Regions from separate parts of the Homo sapiens genome. Here region 1 is linked to region 2. Evidence: promoter capture Hi-C in human tissues and cell types (Jung and others, 2019). All regions are on one chromosome and are shown on one strand. The core of a region is centred on a gene start or on the middle of the fragment in contact, and the rest is flanking DNA. Distances in the headings are between cores, read along the strand shown. Region 1 overlaps ESCO1 (establishment of sister chromatid cohesion N-acetyltransferase 1). Region 2 holds the start of SNRPD1 (small nuclear ribonucleoprotein D1 polypeptide).

What was found. Contacts are between HindIII fragments. The study calls those that stand out against the background at their distance.
Region 1: a contact is called between a fragment that was not itself captured here and the fragment with the promoter of SNRPD1 in region 2, in 6 of the 25 tissues and cell types used here (adrenal gland, aorta, dorsolateral prefrontal cortex and 3 more).

Annotation. Positions count from the first base shown.
Region 1 is chr18:21,540,207-21,545,688 of GRCh38, forward strand. The region is part of intron 8 of ESCO1 (establishment of sister chromatid cohesion N-acetyltransferase 1); the gene reads right to left. Among named protein-coding and RNA genes, the nearest start is that of ESCO1, 58 kb to the right of the region's middle. The HindIII fragment of the contact is 5,589 bases long and covers 1-5,482 here.
Region 2 is chr18:21,609,728-21,615,765 of GRCh38, forward strand. SNRPD1 (small nuclear ribonucleoprotein D1 polypeptide) reads left to right here and starts at 2,587. Exons shown (of 4, transcript NM_006938.4): 1 at 2,587-2,716. The coding sequence starts at 2,703. RefSeq lists a silencer at 2,336-2,385 and an enhancer at 2,646-2,735. The HindIII fragment of the contact is 13,798 bases long and covers 1-6,038 here.

The DNA of each region.
Region 1 (5,482 bases), core at 1,489-3,988, 69 kb before region 2:
AGCTAATTTCTCTCTACTACTCATTCAGAGATATATCTAATACCACAAGAGTATTTCTAATTTATCATTTCCCGTTTTAAATTAATTTTGAAAGCCACACACCAAAAGCAAGCCCCTTAAAGTCAGTAATTCCCAGAAACTATAACTCTCCCAGATTCTTGATAAAAGAATTAAACTCTTATATTTCATTGGAACATGGTTACCTCCACAAACAAACACTCCAAGTTTTATGTCTGGCATGCCAAAGACCTCCAGGAGGTTTTAAATGAACTGATTTGCATGCAGTAGCCCAGTATGAAAGGAATAGTCTTATGCTTATTGATCACAACTACCAAAGCCACAAGAAGGAGACTATAAAAAATATAACTACCTTCTAAGAATCTAATAGGGAAGGAGAAGCTACGTTGTGTGTATCTGAAGTTAAACATACTCAAAAAAAGAGAGGTAATAAACTCTTCTTCAGATCCACACTCGTGGTGATTAATGAGCAGAACCTGCATAAAAAAACAAAACAAAACAAAAGCCACTTAAATCTAGTAAGATGGGACTGAACCAGAGGTTAAAACTAGGAGCTTTGAAGTTCAAAATAAGTACAGAAGGAATGAGCTTAACTAGTTGTTCCAGTTGTCTTAACCCAACCAACTTTACATAAAAAGGCCTTTCCAGAAGCCATTTATACTTCTAGTAGAGAAAACCACCATATTTTTTCTGATGTTTCTTCTAAGAACACAAAAAGCTCAATGAAACCAAGAAAATGGCAACTAGATTTCTTTAAAAATATACTATGGCAAGTGTGAAAGCAGATTCGTTTTCTTAAACCATCAGGAATTTTTTGGAGGGGGAAGGTAGAAAGATCATAGTTGGGAACAAAAATTCTAGGTAATAAGCTTGGTATATGTAACAATTTAAATTAAAATATTTAAAATCCAAAATTTGTTTACATAATAGAGTACCCAAGTTAAAATTCAGATGATTAAAATTATGATTGGTAAAATGTTCTCAAGATTTGAAAAGAAAGGAGCAGAAACAATAGCCACAGAAGTCCTTTTTTCATCTAAGAAACTAAATCTGTAGTTCTTCAACGTAAATAAGGTTTTAAAAAAGAAACTTAAGGCCGGGTGCAGTGGCTCACGCCTGTAATCCCAGCACTTTGGGAGGAGGGCAGATCACAAGGTCAGGAGATTGAGACCATCCTGGAAACCCCGAATCTACTAAAATACAAAAAATTATTGTATTTTTAGGCGGGTGTGGTGGCACGCGCCTGTAGTTCTGGCTACTCAGGAGGCTGAGGCAGGAGAATTGCTTGAACTCGGGAGGTGGAGGTTGCAGTGAGCTGAGTTCGCGCCATTGCACTCCAGCCTGGGTGACAGAGCGAGACACTGTCCCAAAAAAAAAAAAAAAAAAAGAAAGAAAGTAAATCTGAATCATATAGAGATCTGAATATAGGTAAACAATTTTTAGAAGATTTACAAGACATCACCTCTTTAAAAACAAATTTCTATTACTAATGTTACTTTATGAAAAAGCTTTTAAATTTATGAACCTATTTTTAATAAAATGAAAAGAGATTTTCACTTTAAAACATCGAAAAGACCTAAAAATGTAAGTAACCTCAAGTTATAAGAAAACCATTCTTCCTGAACTGAATCATCTAAAGACAGTTCCATAAACTATTTTCCTATTAAATGCCTTTGAAAACAGTAATACTGGTTTCATGTCATTATATTGCATTATAGACATTAGACAAATTATTTTGCTTTACTAATTTTTGAGTGCAAAACTTTCTCTTGAAACAACTTCAGACTTGTATGTTCATGCCGAAATTTTTATCACAATTCCATTTGATATAATTTTATGTTTTAAATAGTACCTTTTTTTCATGTACTAAATAAAAGCCCTTTAAGAAGCAAAGGCTGCAAAAGGATACTTAGTATTGCTTAGATTTCTAATGTTCATGAAAACAGCAAGTTTTATTTATTAATGTAATTTACTTATTTGAGACAGAGTCTCACTCTGTCACCCAGGCTGGAGTGCAGTGGCAAGATCACAGCTCACAGCAGCTTCAAACTCCTGGGGCTCAAGCAATCCTCTTGCTTCAGCCTCCCAAGTAGCTGGGACTACAGGCGTGCACCACCATGCCAAGCTAAGAAAGCATATTTCAGTGAAAACTTTTAAGTAACTCTAGAGTAAAAGTTCAGGGTTTAGATCCTTGTTCTTGGTAGTTACTAGATGCATGGCCTTAGGCAAATCACTGGAACTCTGATTCTGTTTCCTGATCTTAGCATTCTAAAAAATGGCTATCATCACCTCCATCACTTGGGTAGGTACGAGGGTGCTGTATTTAAGATGACTGCTCAAAGAGTAGCCACTAAGTAACTCTTAGCAACTTCCATTCTCCCTTCTTACTAGTATCAAACTAAGATCAATGCACTAATCTAACAAAACAGTCAATCAATAAATGTTCCCAAGGGTAAATACAGCAATAAATTCAAATCATAGGCAAATAAAAGATGAAAGAAACAAGTTAGCTAATATTTGTTCAAATAACATACTCAAGACATATCTATGCCTCAACTACAGTTAACTGCTAGTCACAATAACCACATGACCCTCCTTACTTCAGAGAAACTTAGAGGCGATAAAGTCCATCCAATGCTTAAAATTAAGGCAGAGGAGAAGCAGGGTTCAGGAAAGAGTGCATGCAATTTAGAAGAATAATCAAATAGCCACAACGTTTTTGCAAAGAAATAAATTCCAATGCAGTGCACTTACACTTCTGACCTTTAGCTCCAACATATTTCAGGACTAGTATGTTACACATAACCCTCTGCTAACAAGTAGTATTTTCCAAAACCCATTTTTTCTTACTTCATCCATTTCTGCTTCATGAAAAGCAGAAAACTTTATATTCCTAATTTGTATTTCTAACAGCAAGAAATTATTATTATTTTATTTATTTTTTTTTTTGAGACAGTTTCAATCTTGTTGCCCAGGCTGGAGTGCAATGGCGCAATCTCGGCTCACTGCAACCTCCGCCTCCCGGGTTCAAGCAATTCTCCTGCCTCAGCCTCCCGAGTAGTTGGGATCACAGGCATGTGCCACCACGCCGAGCTGATTTTTTTTGTATTTTTAGTAGAAACAGGGTTTCTCCATGTTGGTCAGGCTGGTTTCGAACTCCCGACCTCAGGTGATCCGCCAGCCTTGGCCTTCCAAAGTGTTGGGATTAAGAAATTATTACTCTTTTCTCCTTGCTATTGGAGTTACTCTAAACTGTACAGTCTAAAGAATGGATTTCTCCTTTTTCCATCAAAAAAAGGATTACAATTGGAAACAAAATACACTGAGTGGTAAATACACTGAGTATATACAATGATCAAAATTCAAACCAAACACTTAAGATGTGTAGATTTAATTGTATAAATAATACCCCGACTTTAAAAGTTCACATTAATCACAATTTCATGAAAAGGTTGAATGAGAATATACATTTGAAGGAATATTTGAAGAAATAAAACCAACAACCAGCTTTTCAAAAAATAAACAAATATTACAAGGGAAAAAAACAGAACCAGGGAGAACTTTGGGATTAAAAGATACTAAAGGGACATAACAACCAATGTAATATATAAACCCTAATTCAAACAAATAAGCAACATAGGAAATCATGAGCTATTTGGGAAGCTTTGAACTCTGATAGAAAACTTGATTTCAACAATTAATTCATTTATTGAAGGTGTAGTTATATTCTTTAAGGTACTTTTATGTTTAAAAAAGGAATAATCTTTGGCCAAGCGCAGTGGCTCACACCTGCAATCCCAGCACTTTGAGAGGCTGAGGAAGGCGGATCACAAGGTCAGGAGATCGAGACCATCCTGGCTAACACGGTGAAACCCTGTCTCTACTAAAAATACAAAAAAATTAGCTGGGTGTGGTGGTGCACGCCTGTAGTCCCAGCTACTTGGGAGGCTGAGGCAGGAGAATTGCTTGAACCCAGGGGACAGAGGTTGCAGTGAGCCGAGATCGCGCCACTGCACTCCAGCCTGGGCGACAGAGCGAGACTCCAACTCAAAACAAACAAAAAAGGAGTAATCTTCATCTTTAAGCAATACATATTTAGAGGTGGGGCATGGTGGCTCACACCTGTAATCCCAGCACTTTTGGGGGCCAAGGCAGGCGGATTACCTGAGGTCAGAAGTTCGAGACCAGCCTGGCTAACCTGGTGAAACCTCGTTTCTACTAAAAATACAAAAAAAAAACAAAAAAAAAACAAAAACTAGACAAGCGTGGTGGCATGCACCTGTAATCCCAGCTACTTGGGAGGCTGAGGCAGGAGAATCACTTGAACCCAGGAGGTGGAGGTTGCAGTGAGCCAAGATCATGCCATTGCACTGCAGCTTGGGCAACAAGAGTGAAACTCCATCTCAAAAAAAAAAAAAAGAAGTACATACTTAGAAATATCTACTAAAGTAATAACATGATGCCTAAGTTTACTTCAAAATAATTGGGAAAGTTAGATGATTATCCATGAATTGTTGAAGGTAGGTGATCAGTACAAAGGGGTTCATTACTCTGTGTGTGTGTGCTGTATTAAACTTGTTTTGGAAAATTCAAATTGCCTATTGTCAAAACTGTACCAATGGCCCAAGGTTTGTTCAAGTATTTAGAAGTAAAAAATAAATGCAAAACTAATCTAGTCAGCGTTGCAGCCAGACCCGAAGTGCAGTAAAGTAGTGACTGTAACAGGAGCAGCTAGACCTGAAGTGTGATAAAGCAGTGACTGTAATAGGATCACAAAGGAGTTTTGGAGGTGCCAGTAATGTTGCTTCTTCTTACATGGGTGTGTTCACTTTGTGAAAATACACCATTATTAAGCTGTGTACTCGCTGTGTACTTTCTTTTTCTTTTTTTGGTTCAGATGGGGTCTCACTATGTTGCCAAGGCTGGTCTCAAAGTGCTGGGCTCAAGCCATCCTCCCACCTCAGCCTCCTTAAGAATTGGGATTACAGATGTGAGACACCATGTCTAGCCTGTGTACTTTCTTTACATGTTATAAGTCAGTAAAAATTTTACTTAAAAACAATTACTGGACAGGTGCGGTGGCTCATGCCTGTAATCCCAGCACTTTGGGAGGCCAAGGTGGGAAGATCGCCTGAGGTCAGGAGTTCGAGATCAAACTGGCCAACATGGCAAACCCCGTCTCTACTAAAAATACAAAAATTAGCCAGGCTTGGTGGCGGGCACCTGTAATCCCAGCTACTCAGGAGGCTGAGGCAGGAGAATCCCCTGAACCTGGGAGGCAGAGGCTGCAGCGAGCCGAGATCACACCATTGCACTCCAGCCCGGTTAACAGAGCAAGACACCGTCTCAAAAAAAAAAAAAAAATTTACTAAAGGAATTAGAAAAATAGGCATTTCAATAGTAATTTAAAAAGTTAAGTTGAGGCCGGGCGCAGTGGCTCACACTTGTAATCCCAGCACTTTGG
Region 2 (6,038 bases), core at 1,337-3,836:
CAAAAAAAGGGCAATATTTATCAAAGTTTAATGTGTGTAGGACTCACCTGGGGAAACTTTATTTTTTTTAATTTTTATTATTATTATTATTTTTTGAGACGGAGTCTTGCTCTGTCGCCCAGGCTGGAGCGCAGTGGCACAATCTCCACTCACTGCAACCTCCGCCTCCCGGGTTCAAGCAATTCTTCTGCCTCAGCCTCCCGAGTAGCTGGGACTCAGCCTCCCAAGTAGCTGGGACTACAGGCATGCGCCACCACGCCCAGCTAATTTTTGTATTTTTAGTGGAGACGAGGTTTCACCATGTTGGCCAGGATGGTCTCGATCTCTTGACCTCATGATCTGCCCATCTCGGCCTCCCAAAGTGCTGAGATTACAGGCATGAGCCACCATGCCCAGCCGATAAGTATTGTCTTACAATATCTAAGAGTTCTGTTGATCAGCGATGAAGTCTAGGCTAGAGATACAAATCAAAGTCATGGTTTTGGAGGAGATTACCAGGTTAAAAGAAAAAGTATACATAAAAAGACTACAGCCACAAGCCGGGAAACACTGTGACATGTATTGGCTCCATAGGGAAGGAGGAACCAGCTAAGGAGATTTAGAAAGAGTAGTTAGAGGCTGGGCATGGAGGCTCTGGGCCTGTAAACCCAGTACTTTGGGAGGCCACGGCAGTGGAATCTCTTGAGCCCAGGAGTTGGATACTAGCCTGGGCAACATAGTAAGACCTCTTCTCTACGAAATAAAAAATAAAATATTAGCTGGGCATGGTGGCACGCACTTGTGGTCCCAGCTACTGAGAAGGCTGAGGCAGGAGGATAGCTTGAGCCCAGACGGTCAAGGCTGCAGTGAGCCCTGATTGTGCCATTGCACTCCTGCCTGGGCAACAGAGCGAGAAACCCTGTCTATAAACAAAACAAAACAAAGCAAGAGTAGTTAGTAGGATAAGGAAAAAGGCCAGGTGAGCTTGGCATCCTGAAACCCGAAAGAGGGAAGGGGAGTGTTTGTGTTAAATTTTGATGAAGCTCACATACTAAAGAGACAATAATGCCGGGCGCGGTGGCTCACGCCTATAATCCCAGCACTTTGGGAGGCCGAGGCGGGCGGATCACGAGGTCAGGAGATCGAAACCATCCTGGCTAACCCCGTCTCTACTAAAAATACAAAAAAATTAGCCGGGCGTGGTGGCTGGCGCCTGTAGTCCCAGCTACTTGGGAGGCCGAGGCAGGAGAATAGCGTGAACCCGGAAGGCGGAGCTTGCAGTGAGCCGAGATCGCGCCACTGCACTACAGCCTGGGCGACAGAGGGAGACTCTGTCTCAAAATACATACATACGTACGTACATACATACATACATAAAAAGACGATAATTAGCGGGCCATGGTGATGCGCGCCTGTAATCTCAGTTACTGGAGAGGCTGAGGCACGAGAATGGCTTGAAACCGGGAGGCAAGGGTTGCAGTGAGCTGAGATCGCGCTACTGCACTCCGGCCTGGGCGACAGAGTGAGACTCCATCTCAAAAAAATAAAAAATATATATATTTTGATGAGATGTTGAGAAAGATGAAGACTGAAAAGTTTGTCTTATAGATTGGAACTTAAAGTGAAAATAATCTGCTACATTGTGGATTTTATTTTTATTATTATTATTTTTTGAGACGGAGTCTCGCTCTGTTGCCAGGCTGGAGTGCAGTGGCACGATCTCAGCTCACTGCAACCTCCACCTCCTGGGTTCAAGCGATTCTCCTGCCTCAGCCTCCCGAATAGCTGGGACTACAGGCGCGCATCACCACGCCCCGCTAATTTTTGTATTTTTAGTAGAGGCGGGGTTTCACCATGTTGGCCAGAATGGTCTCGATCTCTTGACCTCGCTATCTGCCCGCCTCGGCCTCCCAAAGTGCTGGAATTACAGGCTTGAGCCACAGCGCCTGGCCCATTGTGTGATTTGCTTCAGGTACAGTAAGCAATGCTAGGTTCCTGGTGTTGGAACAGAATCAGCATAAGACTTTGGGCTTCTCTAAGACCTTCTTTCCGTTCAGTGAGGAATTTGTATTAGGTGCTGCACTCACAGTGCCCTGCTGTTCAGAAACGTGATGGTGACAGTACTTTTTTTTTTTTTTTTTTTTTTTGGGAGACGGAGTTTCGTTCTTGTTGCCCAGGCAGGAGTGTAGTGGTGCGATCTCCGCTCACTGCAGCCTCCGCCTCCCGGGTTCAAGCGATTCCCCTGCCTCAGCCTTCCGAGTAGCTGGGATTACATGCGCCCGCCACCACGCCCAGCTAATTTTTTGTCTTTTTAGTAGAGACGGGGGTTTCACCCTGTTGGCCAGGCTGGTCTTGAACTCCTGACCTCAGGTGATACCCCCGCTTCGGCCTCCCAAAATGCGACAGTCCTATTAATTGGATTTAATCTCTTCGAATCTCCCTCTCTTGTAGGACATTTTTCTCCAAGACCAGCCCTCGATACCCTCAGCCGTCGCAAGGCAACCTCCAGCCGCCAGGGGCCGCAGTCGCGCTCCTCGCGGCCGGAAGAGAGTGCGGCCCAGCGCAGCCTCGGCGTTTCCGCCATGCGCCTGCAGTGCTCCGCGCGCTCTTGACGTCCGGAGCCCCTGGAGTAGGCGCTTCCGGCCATTCATACTGCAGTCGGTCAGTGTTCGGTTGAAGGATTCTGTGTGCTGTCGGACCCAGAGGGTGACGGCGCCGCTAGGATGAAGCTCGTGAGGTGAGGGAGTGACCAAGCAGCTCTGGGGGCTGTGAAGGGAGGGCTTGGCCCGGAGTCCGGAAGGCTGGGCTCTCCCATTTGCAGGAGGCGGGAAAGCCGCGTGTGCGCGGCCTGCTAACGGCCGGCCTTACTGCGCCCGCAGCTCGTGCTCGGGCCTGGGCTTCCGCCTGGGTCGCTCGCGGATCCCGCGTGTCTTCCAAGAGATTGGTATAAAGGCCGAGCCTTTTCTTCCTGCCTAGTGACTTAGAGGCTTTAAAGATGCAGCGCCTCCTGGGACACATCTCCCTCTTACAGTTACTCATTTTCTTTTTGAGTGGAACTCCCCAGTCCTGCTTAACAGTACTTAGAAAGCTGTATGAGCTTATCTGGAAACAAACCTGTTTGCAAAATATTTTAAATCAGAGAAGGACTTCCGGCTTCACAAGTTTTTGTTTTTTTAAATAAAGATGGTGTCTCACTTTGTTGACCAGGCTGGTCTCGAACTCCTGGGCTCAAGCTTTCTGCCCGCCTCGCCCTTCCAAAGGGCTGAGATTACAGGTTTGAGCCACCGTGCCCGGCCGATTTTTAAGTTTACCTTTTTATCCTCCTTAGATTTGTGATTGATTATTCCACCTCTATTTCCCTTTAAGGTAGGCTTTTTATTTAGGAAAATCTCCCAATATAGGGCAGAAATTATCACAACGTAATTGTGGCTGATTACTCAGATAATATATAGTTCTCCTGTTTTATTTCTTAAGAAATAAATAGACCCTGTCAGTTAGGTGAGTCTTCTGAAAACTTGTTTGCTGATGTGAATAATTCTAAACTACCTGCAAGTAGATTTGGTTTTGGTGTTTTTCCTTGAGACTAAGCCTGGAACAGAGGCAGACGTTTCTAATAGCTAAGCCAGCAATTATAAATATTTAGCTTGTTTTTTTCCTGTTGAGTCAAGGATTGTCAATATCCGCTAAATAGTTATTGGGCACCTGTTACATACTAGGCGCTGGTAATAGGATTTTTTAAAAGGCAGAGTACCTGCCTTGTTGGAGTTTTCTGGTTAGTGGGGATGACAGACAAGTAGATAACGTCTGAAGTAACGTTTGTTTGAAACGTTTTAAATAACACATAAAAGCCTTCAACACTCAGGGAGGAGGCCAGGCGCAGTGGCTCACGTCTGTAATCCCAGCACTTTGGGAGGCCAAGGCGGGTGGATCACTAGGTCAGGAGTTCGAGACCAGCCTGACCAACATGGTGAAACCCCGTCTCTACGAAAATTACAAAAGTTAGTGGGGCGTGGTGGCGCGCGCCTTTAATCCCAGCTACTCAGGAGGCTGAGGCAGGAGAATCGCTTGAACCCAGGCGGCAGAGGTTGCAGTGAGCCGATATCGTGGCACTACGCTCCAGCCTGGGCGACAGAGCGAGACTCCATCTCAAAAAAAAAAAAAAAAAAAAAAAATTATATTCAGGGAGGAGTTGGTACAAAAGACATTTAAGGTTAATTTTTGGTATATTTTTATTTGAACTATAACTTTGGATAGGAAGTCATAGAATTTAAAGTGCATTTTTTAGGCTGGACGTGGTGGCTCACGCCTGTAATCCCAACACTTTGGGAGGCTGAGGCAGGCGGATCGCCTGAGGTCAGGAGTTCAGGACCTGCCTGGCCAACGTGGTGAAACCCATTCTTTCGAAAAAATACAAAAATTAGCCGGGCATGGTGGCGGGCGCCTGTAATCCCAGCTACTCAGGAGGCTGAGGTAAGAGGATCACTTGATCCTGGGAGGTTGCAGTGAGCTGAGATCGCACCACTGCACTCCAGCCTGGGCAACAGAGTGAGACTCGGTCTCAAAAAAAGAAAATTACATTTTTTGAAATTTCTCCATACCTGCCAATCTGAATCTTAATCCACTCATAGTTCAATTTTGTGTAATACACCTTGGATTCCATTTGTTCCCTTTAAAGATACTGCATGTTATGACAATTTTCCAGTAATTTTTAATACCTGTACTGAATCCTGTTTTGTGTCTTAGGTAAAATATAGAAACAAATTTTTTTTCTTACCAGAGAATGTATTTTTCCTCCAGAAAATGATTGTTTGACTAACTGGTTTGCATTTTCAGTAGATTTATTTCTGTATCTCAGTTGGCAGCATTGTCATCCTTATTCTCACTGTCACCCTAACCAAAAACCTGGGAGGTGAGCTTGACTTTTTCTCTCCTGATGTCCTTGACATTTGATACATTGCCAATTTTGCCAGTTTTACCTACTTCATAAAAGTGACCCACATTATCCTGTTTGGTTTTTGGGTTCAAATAGTGTGTTTTATACTGAGGGACACTGTGTTACTATTTGATATCCAAGTTTCACTAAGTGGAAAGAATTCAGACAGTGAAAGATTCATCTGAAAATAATTTGAATCCATTTGGTTCCTGGGCTCAGTTAGGGAGGGATAATTGTGTATTTGTCCTGCCCATAGTAGCCTTTCATTCCAGTCACCACCATTAAGTTCAGGCCCTTTTTATCCCACTCATGGATTTTTGTTTTCCTTCTTTAAGGTAAATATCTTATACAATGAAATGCAGTGTATATTTCCTGCTATTGAAAAATGTAAACACTTTTGTAACCTAAACCCATATCAACAGAAGTAACATTACCAAAACCTCAGACAGTTTCCTCAAGCCTTTCCCAGGCAACCTCTGGCTCCATACCCCTAGATGCAACCAGTTTCTTCCACCAGAAATGAATTTTGCCTGCGCTAGAATTTCATATATTTGGAATCACAAAGTATTTTTGCGTAAAACTTCTTTTAGTTACATGTTTTTGAGATTCATCCACATTGTGAAGTGTATCAGTAATGTGTTCATTTTTATTACTGGATATTAGTGCATTGTGTGTTTGGAAGTTCTGTATTTTAGGCCGGGCGCAGTGGCTCACGTCTGTAATCCCAGCACTTTGGGAGGCCGAGGCGGGTAGATCACCTGAGGTCAGGAGTTTGAAACCAGCCTGACCAACATGGTGAAACCCCATCTCTACTAAAAATACCAAAAAAGTAGCTGGGCATGGTGGCAGGTGCCTGTAATCCCAGCTACAAGGGAGGCTGAGGCAGGAGAATCCCTTGAACCCAGGAGGTGGAGATTGCAGTGAGCTGAGATCACGCCATTGCACTCCAGCTTGGGCAACAGAGCGAGACTCCGTCTCAAAAAAAAAGAAAAAAGAAAAAAAAAGCTCCGTATTTTAAAAAATTACAAGAAAATAAAATAAAAAGTTATGTATTTTGTTTACAACTACGTTGAATATTCTTCAGGTTTTTGGAGGGAAACAAATTTTCGTGGGTAAATACTCGAGT